Linked DNA regions of Homo sapiens: region 2 is linked to region 1. Evidence: promoter capture Hi-C in human tissues and cell types (Jung and others, 2019). All regions are on one chromosome and are shown on one strand. The core of a region is centred on a gene start or on the middle of the fragment in contact, and the rest is flanking DNA. Distances in the headings are between cores, read along the strand shown.

Region 1 (7,169 bases), core at 3,879-6,378:
GTGCCACCGAGGAGAGGTTCAGCCTATGTGCTAGAGGGACAAGGAGACAGGGTGGTACACATTCATCAGAAGCCAGGGTCCCCTCTCACTGGCCAGGGTCCCCTCTCACTGGCCAGAGTCCCCTCCCACTGGCCAGGGTCCCCTCTCACTGGCCAGAGTCCCCTCCCACTGGCCAGAATTCCCTCCCACTGGCCAGAGTCCCCTCTCACTGGCCAGGGTCCCCTCTCACTGGCCAGAGTCCCCTCCCACTGGCCAGGGTCCCCTGCCACTGGCCAGAGTCTGCACCCCTCACCCCTGCCCCCGCCTTGGGGTGTGAGAATCCACAATAAGAGAGCACCTAGGTGGGTAAAAGTCTCTACTGTGCCAGAAAACAGAGCCCCTCAATCCTCAGATTTCTGCTAAAGGCCCACGGACTGGGACTGTTTTGCAGGAATCCAGTTTTAGGGGGATGAATTGTGTCCCCCTAAAATTCGTACATTGAAGCTTTGCCTCTCAGAATGTGGCTGTGATTGGAGATGGGGCTTTTAACAAGATAATTAAGTTTAAGTGGGATCATTAGGGTGGGCTCTCATCCAACTGACTGGGGTTCCCGAAAGAAGAGGAGATGAGGACGCAGACACACACAGAGAAATGACCGTGTGAGGGCATGGGGGGATGGTGCCGACTGCAGGCCGAGGAGGGAGGCCTTGGCTGAAACCAGTGCTGCCGTCACCTCAACCTCGGACTTCCAGCATCCAGGACTGTGAGGGAATAAATCCCTGCTGTCTAAGCTGCCCCATCTGTGGCACTCTGCTGTGGCCGCCGAGCTGACTCACACACCCGGGAAGCCTGGTGACCTGGGGCATGGCCCCGGCCCCTCTCTCACCCTCTCCTCTACTCTCCACTTGGCAGACACAGGCTGAAGAAGGCTGCAAAAACAAGGCAATGAAGGACATGCTTTGTCCAAGGGCTTTAAAGTGGCGGCCTTCCCCAAGTAATTTTTCAAAGAGAGTGCTGGCTTGAAAGGGGCTCCCTCCCATCTGCCCCGCTCCAGTACGTAGGGAGAGTCCTGCTGGCTCTGTGGGCACAGCGGTGGCCTCTGGTCTGCTGAGAAGCCACAGCTCACATGGAGCAGTGGTCAAGGCCAATGGGTCAGAAGGTAAACTAGGGCCAGTGGGGGTCTGGGCCCCTGGAACCGGCAGGACATGCGGTCAGCCGCGGGCCGGCCCTCGGACCCGGCGCCTCCTTGGTTTGCTCTGCTGCTGGTGTGCAGGCTGCACGGTGGTTAAGGGCTGCGTTCCGGGCTACTGGGTTTAGCCACACCCTTGCTGTTCAGCCTCCAGCAAATAGTTTCACCTCTCCGAGCCTCAGCTTCCTCCTGCCTCAAAGGGTTGTTGCTCCATTGAATGAGATGATGCAGGTAAGCAGGTGAAGCCCTGGAAGGCGGCAGGGGGCTTGGAGGAGGCAGAAGAGGATGAGTGCCCAGCGGCAGGGAGCAGGGAGGGAGGGGACTGTGGCCAGGCCTCCCTCACCTACCTTCTCATCTGAGCTTCACAGGGACCCCCCAGCGGTCAGTTTCTTCACCGCCCATTCACAGATAACAAACTGAGGCTCAGAGACAGAATCCTCTTGCCCAAGGTCATGTGGCTAGTGGCTGGTGCTGCTGGGATTCTAACGGAAGTCTGTGTGACTCTGGAGTTGGCCTGGTCCCAGGACATCAGCTGAAGGACACAGCTGCAGCCCCAGGTGCCGGATGCAGGTTCAGAGCATTCTCCTTGCGCAGCTAGAGGGAACTCCTCCCCTGCATGGGACAGAGTGGGGCAGCTTCCAGCCCCTCTGCCAGGCCGTGGCTCACCCAGGCCCTCCTGGGCCCACTTCAGCAGTCTCTGGACCATAAATGCTTAGAGGGCAAGCAGATATCTGCCTCCAGGCACTCCAAGAAGACCTTGTTCCTCCACCTCCTCCATGGGTCTAGGAGAAGAAGAAGGGACAATCTGGCTGCCCCTCAAGGCCTTTGTCTTGGGAAGCAGCTGGCCATTTTCCAGCCAGACGTGACTCTGGGAGGCTGGTGTGACCCCTCAGGACTGGTGGTGAACCATCAGGTCCACATGAGAGCAACACCTGATGGTTGCCATGGCCGCTCTGTCCGGACCACAGCTCTGCCGCTCGAAAAATAAATGAGAGGAAACACAGCCTTGGAAGGAGAAGTTGGGCCATCGGACTCCACGTGTAAGGTGCAGGGCACCTGGCCTGCTCCACTCTCTGCTAGGCACTGTGGGAAACACGCAGTGATGGGTGGTGGCGCTCCCGGTGGCCCAGGAGTACACAGGGTACAGGACCTGGTTAGCCTTCTGCGGTGAGTGCCATGAACAGGAGCAGGCAGCCGGGGAGGGCTAGATGGGAAACGATGGATAGCAGAAGACAAGGAAGACACACATGCAAAAAAGGGGCCACCTCTGCATGGGCGTGGGAGTCACTGCTGCATTGCAGGTCAATGTGGAAGGGACCCAGGCACCTTGCTCACCACATACTCCCTAAAGCCTAGAGCGGTGTTGGCAAGGAGTATGCGCGCAATAAGCAGTTTTCCAAGGACTCTGGTTTTGCTCAGTTGTGGGAGGGCATGGAACATGGTGAGTTTGGGACAATCTGCACCAGTTGCTGTTGTCTGAATCTGGGCAGGGTGGTCCTGGCGGCAGGCGTGTGGTCCGGATGCCATGGGGAGGCAGGCAGTGCACACTGGGCTCCAAGCATGGAGACCTGGGTCCAAATCCGGACCCTGTCACGGATGAACTGGGTAAGTCCCCTACCCTCTGTGGCCCCTGATTTCCTCATCTGTGGATGGGAGAGATGCCAGTATTCCCTACCGGTGCATGAGAACTGATGCACGTGTGGGTGAAGAGTGTGAGGCAAAAGCCTTAAGATGTGGCTGATATTCTTAGCTTGGCAACACAGTTCGAATCCTGATTGGTACTGCCGGGCCATTCTGCCATAGTCCCTGGCTGACACATCAGGCCGCCAAGTTTGGGGACTTCTCTCTGAGTTTCCTGGTGGGATAGAAACTCATCTCTCCACCCAACTCAAGGCTCAGATGAGGGTGGAAACTCACATTTGACAGCTTTCCAAGCCACCGCACCACTTGCTCTCCAAGAGAGGATAAAGTGCATCTGTCATGGCTGCTTGAGCTGCAAGACTGAGCCATCTTACCATTGCTGAGAAGTCAACTTTTGGGGGACCTTGGGGTGGTCACTTGAGTGTCAGCTCTTAAGGCGCCAGTTGTGTTAATTCAGGGCAAAGTTTAGATGCTGGCTGTGAGTTACAGGAGGGCTTGCTGACTGGCACGGATGTGCACATGGGACTGTCAGAAAGGAACTCCACTTGTGCTTGGGGAAAAAGAAGCTGGAACCAGAAAGCCTCCACTCTCTTCTGATAACCAGGCCATGGCCTGTGTCAGCACCCCTAGTCTTCAGGGGTGAAGCTGGCCTTGCTGGTAGGGGCGGGGGCACTCCAAGGACCAAGCACAGCTGGGGCTGGCGCGGAGTCTGGGGTTTGATGGAATTTCTCACTCATTGAAGTCCACAGGGAAAGTAAAGGGCCAGTGGCTGCAGGTTAACCAACGCACAGACACGCACACAGGCACACACACAAACACACACATGCACACAACTCACACACATTTTTGCCTGATCACATATGCCTTATACAAGTTGTAAAACAAAATAAAATCAACAAGGAAACAGGTCAGAACTAACATTTGCTTTACTGAATGTATCTCAAGCACCTCCCCACGTCTGTGTGTGAAGAGCTTCTCATTCTTTTCCTGCGAAATATTTGATATCTATGCAAGCGCATGTGGCAGATATGGAGACTAAAAGCCTCATCACCAAGTTAGCAACAGCGACCTATCACCCAGCTCCGGAGCCTGCCATGGCTATCCTGGCAAACCTAACCTCGGACGCCTCTCTCACCTCCTGTTTCCAGAATGGTGAGAATTAAAGAGCATTTGGGGAATTTCACGCCCAGTCTGGAGATGTAACTGGAGAGGGGAGTCCCAGCCCTGTCTGGCATCTCTGGCTAAATTGTTTGTTCAAAGGGAATGGGGATGGCCCAGGGTTTGCAAATCGTTCTTAATTCATTCTGATTCCCTCCTTTTAAAAAACTAGCCCTGCAGCCCTTGGGGAAGGGGTGTGGGTCAGGCTTCAGGAGGCTGTGCAGGGAGGCCAGGCCTGGGGAAGCTGGAGGGAGAGACGCCCACCTACCACCCAGAGACTGGCGGGCCTCCTGCTGGAGGAGACCCCGAGGGGCTTAAAGAAGCCAGGCAGGAGAATCAGGGCCCCAGCTCTTCTCCGAGAGCAGCCGATCAGGAATGCCTTCTCCCTGCGCCAGCTGTCACTCCCAAGGGGATGCCTTCTTTGGTTTCCTTTTTATTGCAGAGGGGCCACCAGGGAGTGGGCAGGAGTGAGGGGTGAGAGCCTGGGGGCCGCAGAGCCAAACTTCGCCTGATTAATAACCCAGATGTTCCCGTCCAAGCACATGGAGGTCCCGGGAGCTCTTGGGAAGTCAGACCCCAGCTCGGTCCCGTGCCAATCTGCAGTTAGGAGGCAGGTCCTCGGTCCGGGTTGACACGTAGGCCACAGTCTTGGGCGCCCTGATCTGGCTGGATGGGAAGTTTAGTCTCCACCCAGAAGAGGAGCTCTGAACTCCTCCACGTTAAAGAAAAAGTTAGGCGGGGTAAACTGCAACTTTCTTTTTAACCCGAAGTGATCAAACCTCGGGGCCCCTCTGCACTGGTTCTTGGAGCATGGCCAGGTGCGGGCACCTGGGGTGGGAACAGTGGGGGGACCAGGGTGGGCCCCTGGGCTCCGAGGCCGCCCCAGGCCCGCCCGCCTACCGGCTCTCAGAGAAAGAACAGGGGGCCGCGCCCGCCCCACGTCCGCTCCGCCCCGGGCCAGCCCCTTCCTCGCTGCGACTCGCCCGCTGTCCCCACCCCCTCGCCCGCGGCGCCCAGTGGGAGGCGGGGGCTGGCCTCGCCGAGCCCAGCGCCGGGCTCTGATTTGCTGCGGGCGTTGGGGATCGACAGCCTCCGCGGCTGCCTTCCAGGAGAGAGGGAGGGAGGAAAAGGGGGAAAAAAGTGCTCCGCGCCGAAGGCGAGGTCCGCACTCTCCGTCCCCGCGGCTGGCGCAGGACCTCACTCGAGCGGAGCGCCCACGGGGAGCGGGTCGCGGGGCGGCGGCGGCGAGGAGGAGGCGAGAAGGAGTTGGAGGAGGAGGAGGAGGAGGCGAGGGCGAGCTAGCCCAGCGGGGTCCCGGCCGCCCCGCGGGCCAAAGTCGAGCCCTCCCGCCCGTGGGCGAGCGCGCCAGCCGCCCCTTCCAGAACAGCCGCCGCCACAAAGAAGAACGGGGGGTGCCGAGGTCCCCATGACCTCCTAAAGTGGTGCGGTCCCTGCTGAGTGCGCTGCCCGGGCCGTGACCCGCGCCCCTGTGCGTCCCCGCGCGCCTCCGAGCGCCCCTGTGCGCCCCGGCCCGCGCCCCGCCGGCATGGACGTCCATACCCGCTGGAAAGCGCGCAGCGCGCTCCGCCCGGGCGCCCCGCTGCTGCCCCCGCTGCTGCTGCTGCTGCTGTGGGCGCCGCCTCCGAGCCGCGCAGGTAAGGGCGCCCCGGGGCGCGGGGCTGCGGGATGGGGCGCGCGCAGCCCGGGCGCCGCTGTCATCCCCGGGCGCCTTCGCCCGCAGAACTTTTCTTCCTTGGCCTGTGGAATGCACGGGCCAAGACCACGAATGCCATTTGCTGGGGGCCCCCCCGAGATGACGACACGCAGACACAATGCCCGCGGGCGCGCCGCCGCCCCCTCCCCAGACGGGCGGGTCGGGTGGGGCTGTCGCGCGAGCCGAGGAAGGACCGAGGGCTGGATCAGCAGGAGGGGTTGTCCACGAGGCGGGCAAACTTTTGTCCCAAAAACCTTCCTTCTCTGTCCCACATCACAGGCGCCCAGCTTGGGCCCTCACAGCCCTACAGCAGAACTTCCTCTGCTCCAAACCGGGCAGGGCCGCCCCCTAGAGTTACAGCCCTTCAAATCCCGGGACTCCTGGGGATGGGGGGAATCCCAGAAGCCTGGGCCCCCAGCACTGAACTTCCCCCAGGCACTGTCACTCTAGGCTGAGCTGGCGCCCTGCTTTCCCCAGGGACAGCGTTTCCTGCAGCCTTGGTCACCTAAGTGTTCGGGGGCACTGGGGACCCCTGCAGGGTGGTAGACAGCCCTGCTCCTAATCCCACCCCCAAACTTCTTGATCCCTGGAAGGCAGCTTTTCCTGGATTCGCTGCTGAGAGATGGGATGCGTGGAGCAAAGCCAGAGATGGGCTTGCAGGCGGGGCTGTGAGTGGTTGGGATGATATGCAGATGTGGGATTCCTTCTGCCAAGGGTCAGCCCTTAGAAGGAGGCTTGCTTCCCGGGGAGGGCGCTTCAAGGCGGGGACTGTCTGCGTCCCTGCCTGGGTTCTCGAGGGTTCAACTCTCCCTGGCGCAGCTTCCTGACGGGGGAGTTTTTCTAGGCATCGCTCTTGGTAGTTAGTGGCGGGGTGGGTTTTCACAGACTCTCGAACATCAGAGCCCCCAGCCCTGGAAGGTCCCCCGAATCCTTATTGACAGGCGGGGAGATGGAGGCTCAGAGCTGTGTGCTGCCAGGTCAGGAGAAGTGGCGGGCAGAGCGATGGGACGGTGGGCTCAGCGAACGTCTGGACCAGCCCGCCGCCTGCCAGCAAGAATGCTTCTCTCTGCTTCACGATTGGAAGACAAGTGGGAAGAATCATTGTCCGTGTTCCGCTTGTCAATTAAAACACTCTTTTCCTTTTTCCCTGGCACGATCAGTGCTTGTTGGGCTAACTGGATGAGCTGGAGTCTGGGTGTGGGGGCTGCCCTGGGGCTCTGGGGGAGGAGCCAGGAGCCTGGCCTGGCTCCCAGGACCTGGGATCTCATCCCTGGGCCGCCACCAACTCTCTCCTGACCCTGGGCTAACTGGGCTTGTGTTTCTCCAGGGGTTAGCTGAAGGTGGGGGACAACAGAGGTCCCCAGAAAAGTGGAGAGGAGAAGGAAGGTGTGGTCAGGGACTGTGCCATTGCCGGGGGACTAGGCCCTGTCTCAGCGCCTCTGGGGACTTTTCCCCAGAAACTCAGGAGGGAGTCCTTCAGGGGAATCG
Region 2 (7,629 bases), core at 2,107-4,606, 48 kb after region 1:
TGCCTGCCTCGGCCTCCCAAAGTGCTGGGATTCCAGTCCTGAGCCACCGCGCCTGGCCATCAAATTCTTTTCAGTCACCTCCCTTCTTCCTTAAAACTGACCTTGCTGGCGTCCATTCCTTTATAGGTCTGGGGACCTGATGCCTGGTTATATCCTCATGAAAATGGGCCTCTGGGATGCCAGTGACAAATACTTCTACTTGTAACAGTGCAGGGGATGCAGGGGCCAACTTCTCTAACTCTGATCAACTCGGGGATGGACAAGAGGTATTCCCTGGGCAAGCGAGGCTGTGCAGGATGCCTGACCCCTAGGTGCTGGGGGTAAACACTTCTTGTAGTTTAAAGATTCTGATGCCCGTGGCCTTGTGCTGGGCCCATGTCCCATAGGTGGTTCCAGGGAGGCTCCTGGTTTCAGTGCACACAGCTGATGGGAGCAAGCCACGATGGGGAAAGGGATTGAATGCAGGGAGTCAGGTGGATACAGTCTCCGGGAGACCCGGCGTGGTGGGGTCAGGAGGCCCCACTCCACTATCCCATTTGGGGTTGCACCACCATAGCGAGGCTGCCACCCAGACTGCAGGAAGTTGCTGCTGCCAATGCCGCCTGGTGCCCTGAAGCTGGTCCCAGGCCGTGGCATGCGTGGGGGTCTGGACATGAGGATCACCTCCATATGCTGTGTCTGGGGATATGGCCCTGCTGGCTGTGCCAGGGCGGAGGAGGCTGCCACCTCCCTCTCACTGTCCAGCTCCATGAGTCTCTCTGATTGGCAGATTCTAATTTGCACCCTGCATCCTTATGCAAAGGCACCTGGGAAGTGTAGTTTTTAGCTCCCCAGACTGCAGAGCAGGATGGTGCCTAGAGGAGACAGGGCTGGAGCTTGGGTGGCCAAGGCACAGCAGGACACCTGCTATTCTCTGGGACTTCATCCATCCATCCATCCATCCATCCATCCATCCATCCATCCATCATCCATCCATCCATTCATCCATCCATCCATCCATCCATCCACCATGTGATGGACTGACCCCATAGGTGATCCGGTCATGGCGAGGGTTCCATGGAATCAACAAAGTTTTTGTTTCATGAAGCTTTCGGAGCTGGCCTTCTGTGCATCAGATGGTCGGTCTCAGGAACCTCTGGGCACAGCTGCATGGTCCTTCACTAAAGAGTAGGCACCGGGCTGGGTGTGGAGACCACACGCGTGATGCCATCTCGTCTTCACTGAGCACCTGGGCTGCTCGGTGGGTCCTCTGGGAACTGCTGGTGATGGGCCCCTGCCTGGCTGTCTAGGAGAAAAGGGCAAAAGAGAGGGGCTCTTGTTTGTTGAGCCGGGAAGTGCACGGGCCAGTGTGCGGTGGCCACTGTTGATTCTGCAGCTTCTCTCACTGGCCTTGACCCACTGGGATCCACCCTCTGGTGGGGGGTGCCACTGGCTTCAAACCCATGTCCACCTGTCCCCAAAGCTTGTGCTGTGTCCAAGTGGAGTTTTCATCCTGATGGAGGCTGGAAGAAAAGCTCCTGAAAGGCTGTGCGCCAGGCTCCTCCTGGGCTCTCCCCAACCTTTTCTTTTTCAAAAAGTACTTAATGTTTTCCTCTGCTCTGGCACAGGAAGCCCCTGGCCAGCAGGAGGGGTGGCACTAGGCCTGGGAAAGGTCTGGTGGCCTCTTAAACTTGTTGCAACAGAGATCTGCGAACATGTCCACCAAGCCTGCTGGAAAACAGCTCTTGCCTTCAGCAATGGAGAAAACAGGCTTGCGAGCCTGAGTCTGGGAAGAGCATCACGGGCTTGTTATGGTGTGAGTCCAGGAAGCCCCGGCCGGGATCCTTGCTCCCCTGCCCCGGCCGCTGCCAGTGCTGGAATTGAGTCTTAGGGATGACCCAGGGCTCGGCACTGTGTCATCTTCAGCAGGTGGACCGGCAGCTGGCGCATCCTCTCTTTCCACGGGCTGCATCCAGGCCCAGGGCTGCGCGGTGCAGCCTCACCAGGCACTGGCACTCAGCGTTTCTTCTCAAGTCAAAGGCAAAAGCCCACCAAAGCCTTCTTTGCTGGGGCCAGGTGGGAGGTGCCATACATGCCCGAGGGGGTGACAGAGCTGGGTGGGCTGTGCCCTGCTTGGCAGCCGAAAGCCACCCAGGAAAACAGAGAGGCCATGAGAGGCCTGGACGTGGGGTGTTCTGGGTCCCTGTGCCGCCCCTCCCCTTTGTCACTGTTCCCACGCCGCAGTGGGAAATCCTCAGCTTCTCCATGTTTCTGGCTTCTTGATTTAATTGGCAGAGGACTGCAGCAAAGCCAAGCTGTAGAAATGACACCGTCAGAGGCAGGGACTTCAGAACCCTGGGACCTGGGTACTGTGGAGCCTTCCAGAGAACTGTGGATGGGGAGGGGCTTCATGAATGAGAAATGCGGCTTCGATTTCCCTCCACCCTGGTCTCCTTCAGAGCCCTGCCCAGGCTGCTGTCTTCCCTGCACTGTCAGCTGGTCATGGCGGGGGTGGGGGTGGCACAGGTTCCTGTCTGTACCTCCTTGTGGCCTGCGCACCAAGCACAGTGCCCGCGCTGAGTCCCCTGGAGGGACAGGGAGTGCTGGGGAGACAGAGTCCTCCGTCTGGGTGCTCCTCTTGCTGAGGGCCTGCTGGGACAAGCAGTGACACTGCGCCATTGTCTCTGGCAGCCACCTCCTCCCGTGGCAGTGCCGAGGCTGCAGGTGCCCCTGGCTGCAGGAGTCCTTGAAAACCAGCAGAGAGGAAACCTGCGTGGCCATCCCATCTCACCTCCAAACCTTCTGCCCTTGGGAAAAAGGTGGGACTTTCCTCTTGAGCCCGTCGCAGGCTGATCACCATTCCTCCCTGGGGAGGAGGGCCAGGCCAGAGAGCGGGGAACTGATAGCTGAGGAGGCCCACACCACTGCACCCAGAGATGGGCACTGTTTAGTAGCAGATGTTGGGATCTAACTCCAATTGGCATTAGCATAAAGAGGGATACACCGGTTTCTGTCAGGCACAGCTTGATCCAGCTACTCAAACAGTGTGGCCAGTCTGTCTCTCTGCATCCTCAGGCAAGCACTCTCCACCTGCTCAGGAGACAGTTGCCAGCAGCTCCAGGTTCCTGTTCTGTGTTTGGAGCCAGCAGAGCAGGGAGGATTCCTCTTTCTCAAAGGAAAAAAGCCCCAGGACGGAGCTTCCTTATCCTGGCTGGTCTCACGTCCATCCCTGAGCTGACCGTCTGGGACAGGGCGGTGTCATGCTCTGATTGGCCAGCAGAGGGGGCACGGCCAACCCCGTCCACATCTACTGGGCAGGGCAGTTGCCGGCTGCTGGGTTCCTCCAACTCCCAGGCCGCCCCAACACACACCATTCTGTCGCTGTGATGCCAACTTCGAGTTTATTTTCTCTGCCGGGACTCCCAGGGAGCCTCTTGCTCGTGGGCACAGGAGCAGTGCTTTTCCCATAAAACTGACCTTGTTCAGGGCAGGTTCCTGGATTCGCGCCTTGTGGTGGATGCAGGTCTGGGGTCCTCGTGGTGTGGGGGAAGGAGGCTCTGGCAGATGGGGCCGTCTTTTGTGTTGGAGGGTGACCATTGAGCTCCCTGGTAATGATCACGGCTTCAGTGGCCAGAGGTCAGCTTATCCCCTTGCCCTTCCCTGAGAGCCCCTGGATAGAGGGTCAGGAACCTTCTGGAAGGGATGCGGGGGCTGCCCCTCCCTTGTTCTTGGCTCTGCATGGTCTGGCGATGTGGGCAGGGGTCTTCCAGGGCAATGGAAACTGCACACCCGCTGTAAACGGTCATGGGAAGGCGACAGACAGTCCAGGTGGATAATGACGGGGGGATAAACTAGGCCAGTGACATCCCCGTGACCTCTGGAGGGGCCTCAGGTGGGGTGAAGGTTCTCAGGGCTGCAGGGCAGATGTTGTGACCCACCGGTTCTCCTGTGTCATTGCACAGCACACCATAAGGCGGTCAGCTCCGCAGTGGGCCTTCTGTGGCCTTCCAGCATCTGCCTGGGCTGCTCTCCTTACGTGGCCAATGAGAAGAGGTGTCTGGGAGGCTGGGTGTGTGGCCCCTGCCAGCCTCAGGAGCCACGAGAGCGCAGTGAGGAAGGAGGGCGTCGTCAGAGCTGGGCTAGCCCGGGTCTGCCCCTGGTGTGTGGCCGCTGGTGGGGACAGGGATGGGACCCTCTGGGCTAGCCTGGGTCTGCCCCCGGTATGTGGCTGCTGGTGGGGACAAGGATGGGACCCTCCTCCGCAGCGTGGTGCCCTGCCTCGCCCAGCACGCGGCTCTAAGCTGGTCCTGGGGCTCTTCTGAGTGCCCAGGATTCACAGTGGTGGGGGTGGGGGTGCTTCCTGTCATCCCAGCTTCCGGGTGTTCCCAGGTGCTCCTTTCCTCTCCGTGGCTAACTCTGCTCCTCCTCTGTCATTTCAGCTCAGCCAGCAGATCTCCTGAAGGTTCTAGATTTTCACAACTTGCCTGATGGAATAACAAAGACAACAGGCTTTTGCGCCACGCGGCGATCTTCCAAAGGCCCGGATGTCGCTTACAGAGTCACCAAAGACGCGCAGCTCAGCGCACCCACCAAGCAGCTGTACCCTGGTAAGTGCCGCACCCTTCTGTTTGGGGCGGTGGGTCCCGTTGGCCCTCTGGCCTCCAGCCAGGAGCAGCGCTCAAGCCTGCGTGGTGGCAGAAGCGGGCTCAGCTTTCCAGGAAGCCCCTCTCACGAGCCCGGCTTCGTTTCACTGTAGTGAAAAGGCAGTTGCAACAGTGGGATTTTGTCCTTCTGGACGGGACTGGGCTTTGTCACTGTCCTTCTCTGCTGGATGTGGGTGGGTGGGTGTGGCCCAGTGCCCTTGACCTTCTATCAGCTGTGTCTCTGGTGGTAGCTGGGCCGCCAGGACTCCAAGGGCAGAAAGAGTCGGATGGGTCCTGAGGGATGAGGTTGAGAGAAACCTCGGGGTCGTGGGAAAGGAAGCACTTCCAGACAGAAGCTTAACCAGGGGCAGTGACATTAAGAGACGATGAATCAAACGTCGTGACTCCTAGCAAGAGCATGGGAGGCTTTTAATGAGAGTCAACTGCTAAATGCCGGGTCTCTGCTTTTAATTACATGCCCGGAGCGGGAAGCAGCATTAGCTCTAAGATACAGCATCCAAGTTGTCCCTGTCACCCAGTCGTGGGGCGGCACCTGCCACAGTTAATTAAACCCTCTGGGCTTATCTGGACGTGATTAACGAGCTGTTGATGGAGAACCTCATCGCCTTGACCCAGCCACTTGCTCATGGCCTGGACTAAAATGAGCTCCTCTTTCTGATTCAGATGAGAAAGGGACGGGGGATGTAGGGCAGGTGAGTTCACTTTATGAGATGCTCTGTAATTATTAGAAGACAGCGCAGCATCTTTTTGGTGGACCTGGAGGTGACCCCGGCATTGAACCCACGATCAGGGCAGTCTTTGAATGCTCCGTGGTGTTTCTGATGATCGTGTCCCCACGGGGCCCCTGAAGGACACCCTCTTTTGAGGGGCTGTTTCTGCTTCCACAGACGTGCTCTCTGTACACTCATCCCCAGCCATTGCCCAGCCCTCCTTTACATCCATGTGACCTTGAAGAGTTTGTCTCTGAGAGAATCTGGGCAGTTCTTTTCAAGAATGTTTTTGAGAACGAGTTATTTCAAGAAACACCTTCGAGGCACCGAGTCTCTGCCTTGCAGCTTGGTGGAGGTGAGGTGAAGTGGCCTGGGACCCCTGGCAGCCCATATTCTCTTAAACAGCCCACCTCTGGGTACCAGAGTGGCCCTGGGCTGTGGATCCCCAGCCTCAAGCGTGTGGAACTCATCGGCTCAGACAGCCTGTCCCCGCAAAGGACTGCAGCGGTTTCGTTTCTCCAGGCCTCTGGAGGAGCGTTCATAAGCTTCTGGGAGAGCATCTCTTTTGGAATTAGCCATGGAATCCTCACTTGGACCTTGGCCCAGAAATTGCACCCTTTTCTGCCCCATGACCCCCGGTTTAGAATTCGTGACCTAGAGATCCTGGGAGGGCTGGTCCAGGGAAGGGCTTAGAGAGCTGATTGCCGAGGACCACATGGACTCTGGGTGTGTGACACGCTGAGGGGCACCCTGGGAAGTAAGCGCTCCTGCTTTCCAAGGGGATCTTCAGCCACTTTGTTTAATCTTCTCTGTGTCACCCAATTCTGGGGTGTGGGCACCACACACTCACTGGACTTTGTCCTTCTCTGCTGGATTATCTTGTGGCCAGAAATATTACAGTATCTCAGGAATACGGGCTAATTATTGGATAAATAATCTAGGATCAGCTGGGCGCGGTGGCTCACCCTGTAATCCCAGCACTTTGGGAGGCTGAGGCAGGCGGATCACTTAAGGTCAGGAGTTTGAGACCAGCCTGGCCAACATAGTGAAACTCCATCTCTACCAAAAATACAAAAATTAGCTGGACGTGGTGGTGCGCGCCTGTAATCCCAGCTATTCGGGAGGCTGAGGCAGGAGAATCACTTGAACCTGGGAGGCGGAGGTTGCAGTGAGCTGAGATCGCACCACTGCACTCCAGCCTGGGTGAGAGTGAGAATATGTCAAAAACAAAAAAAAAGGAAAAGAAAGAAATGGCTTGGCCTTCCAGCAGTTTCTGCATAGCAGGCTCTCTGTGCCTCTCTCAGCAGGGACCCCATCCCTGAGCAGGGCTCTTATCTACAGATCAGTTGGTTTCCATGTCTGTTTCCGGCTTTTAACCAGATGCTAGGTGAGCGAGGTTACCGTGACACAGTGAAGCAGTGAGCCGAGATCGCGCCATTGCACTCCAGCCTGGGCAACGGAGTGAGTGAGACTGTCTCAAACAAAACAAAACAAACAAAAAAACCAACACATAATCTAGGGTAAATTTCTGAATAGTCTGCGGGATTTTTTTTTAAGTCCATGTTTTTTTAAGTTTTCCAAAGTGCTTCACTTGCTCTTCCAGAGCCTTCTGTGAATTAGCTTACAGAGTAGAGTGGGTCCACATAAGCCAATTGCCCCATTCATGGCAGATGAAGCTGGAGGTTGCTTGGGAAGTATTGAAGCAGGGCTGTCTACGGAGTCCCTTCTGCAGGTCCCAAAGTGTTGGGTTGGGACCTGCAGAGGTCCCAAGGGACACTGTTGGAGACCAGTGTCATAGGACATCATTTGCCTTTGAATTGACGCCATACCCCGCCTCGCCCCTTCCGCCCGGCCCTCCGAGCAAACTCGCCACCTGTCCTCTGTTGCTCGGACTCTGTCCACCCCACTTGGCTTGTGGGCCCCTCAGTGGAGGGACTCAGAAGCTCACTTCAGGTTTTCTGTTTGAGAAGTGCTCAGTGTGTAGGGGCCACACACAGGAAAGGGCTGTTTGCTTGGGACCGACACGGTCTCGCGCCAGCCACTCGTGTGGGTCAGCCTAAGCGCTAGGGGAGCTGGAGCTGCACCATGCCCTGTCTCGGGGAGCAGCAGCATCTGCGGGATTCTAGAGACCCGTACCTGCCTGGCAGTTGTAGAGGTAGAAGAGAGGGTGCAGCCCAGGTGGCCACGGCAAGGCCTGGGCTGTGGGGAACTGAGTGGAGCAAAAACAGTATCTGTAAGTATCTCTTGGCGAGAGGGGAAGCCCGCATCCAGGCAGC

The links. The method cuts DNA at HindIII sites, captures the fragments that hold promoters and counts their contacts. A contact is called where the count stands out against the background at its distance.
Region 2: a fragment that was not itself captured here is called in contact with the fragment with the promoter of COL5A1 in region 1 in 1 of the 25 tissues and cell types used here (mesenchymal stem cells).

The regions. Positions count from the first base shown.
Region 1 is chr9:134,636,675-134,643,843 of GRCh38, forward strand. COL5A1 (collagen type V alpha 1 chain) reads left to right here and starts at 5,129. Exons shown (of 66, transcript NM_000093.5): 1 at 5,129-5,622. The coding sequence starts at 5,514. RefSeq lists an enhancer at 6,108-6,814. The HindIII fragment of the contact is 11,057 bases long and covers 1-7,169 here.
Region 2 is chr9:134,686,494-134,694,122 of GRCh38, forward strand. COL5A1 (collagen type V alpha 1 chain) reads left to right here. Exons shown (of 66, transcript NM_000093.5): 2 at 4,419-4,586. Among named protein-coding and RNA genes, the nearest start is that of COL5A1-AS1, 37 kb to the left of the region's middle. RefSeq lists an enhancer at 2,297-3,087. The HindIII fragment of the contact is 4,164 bases long and covers 1,275-5,438 here.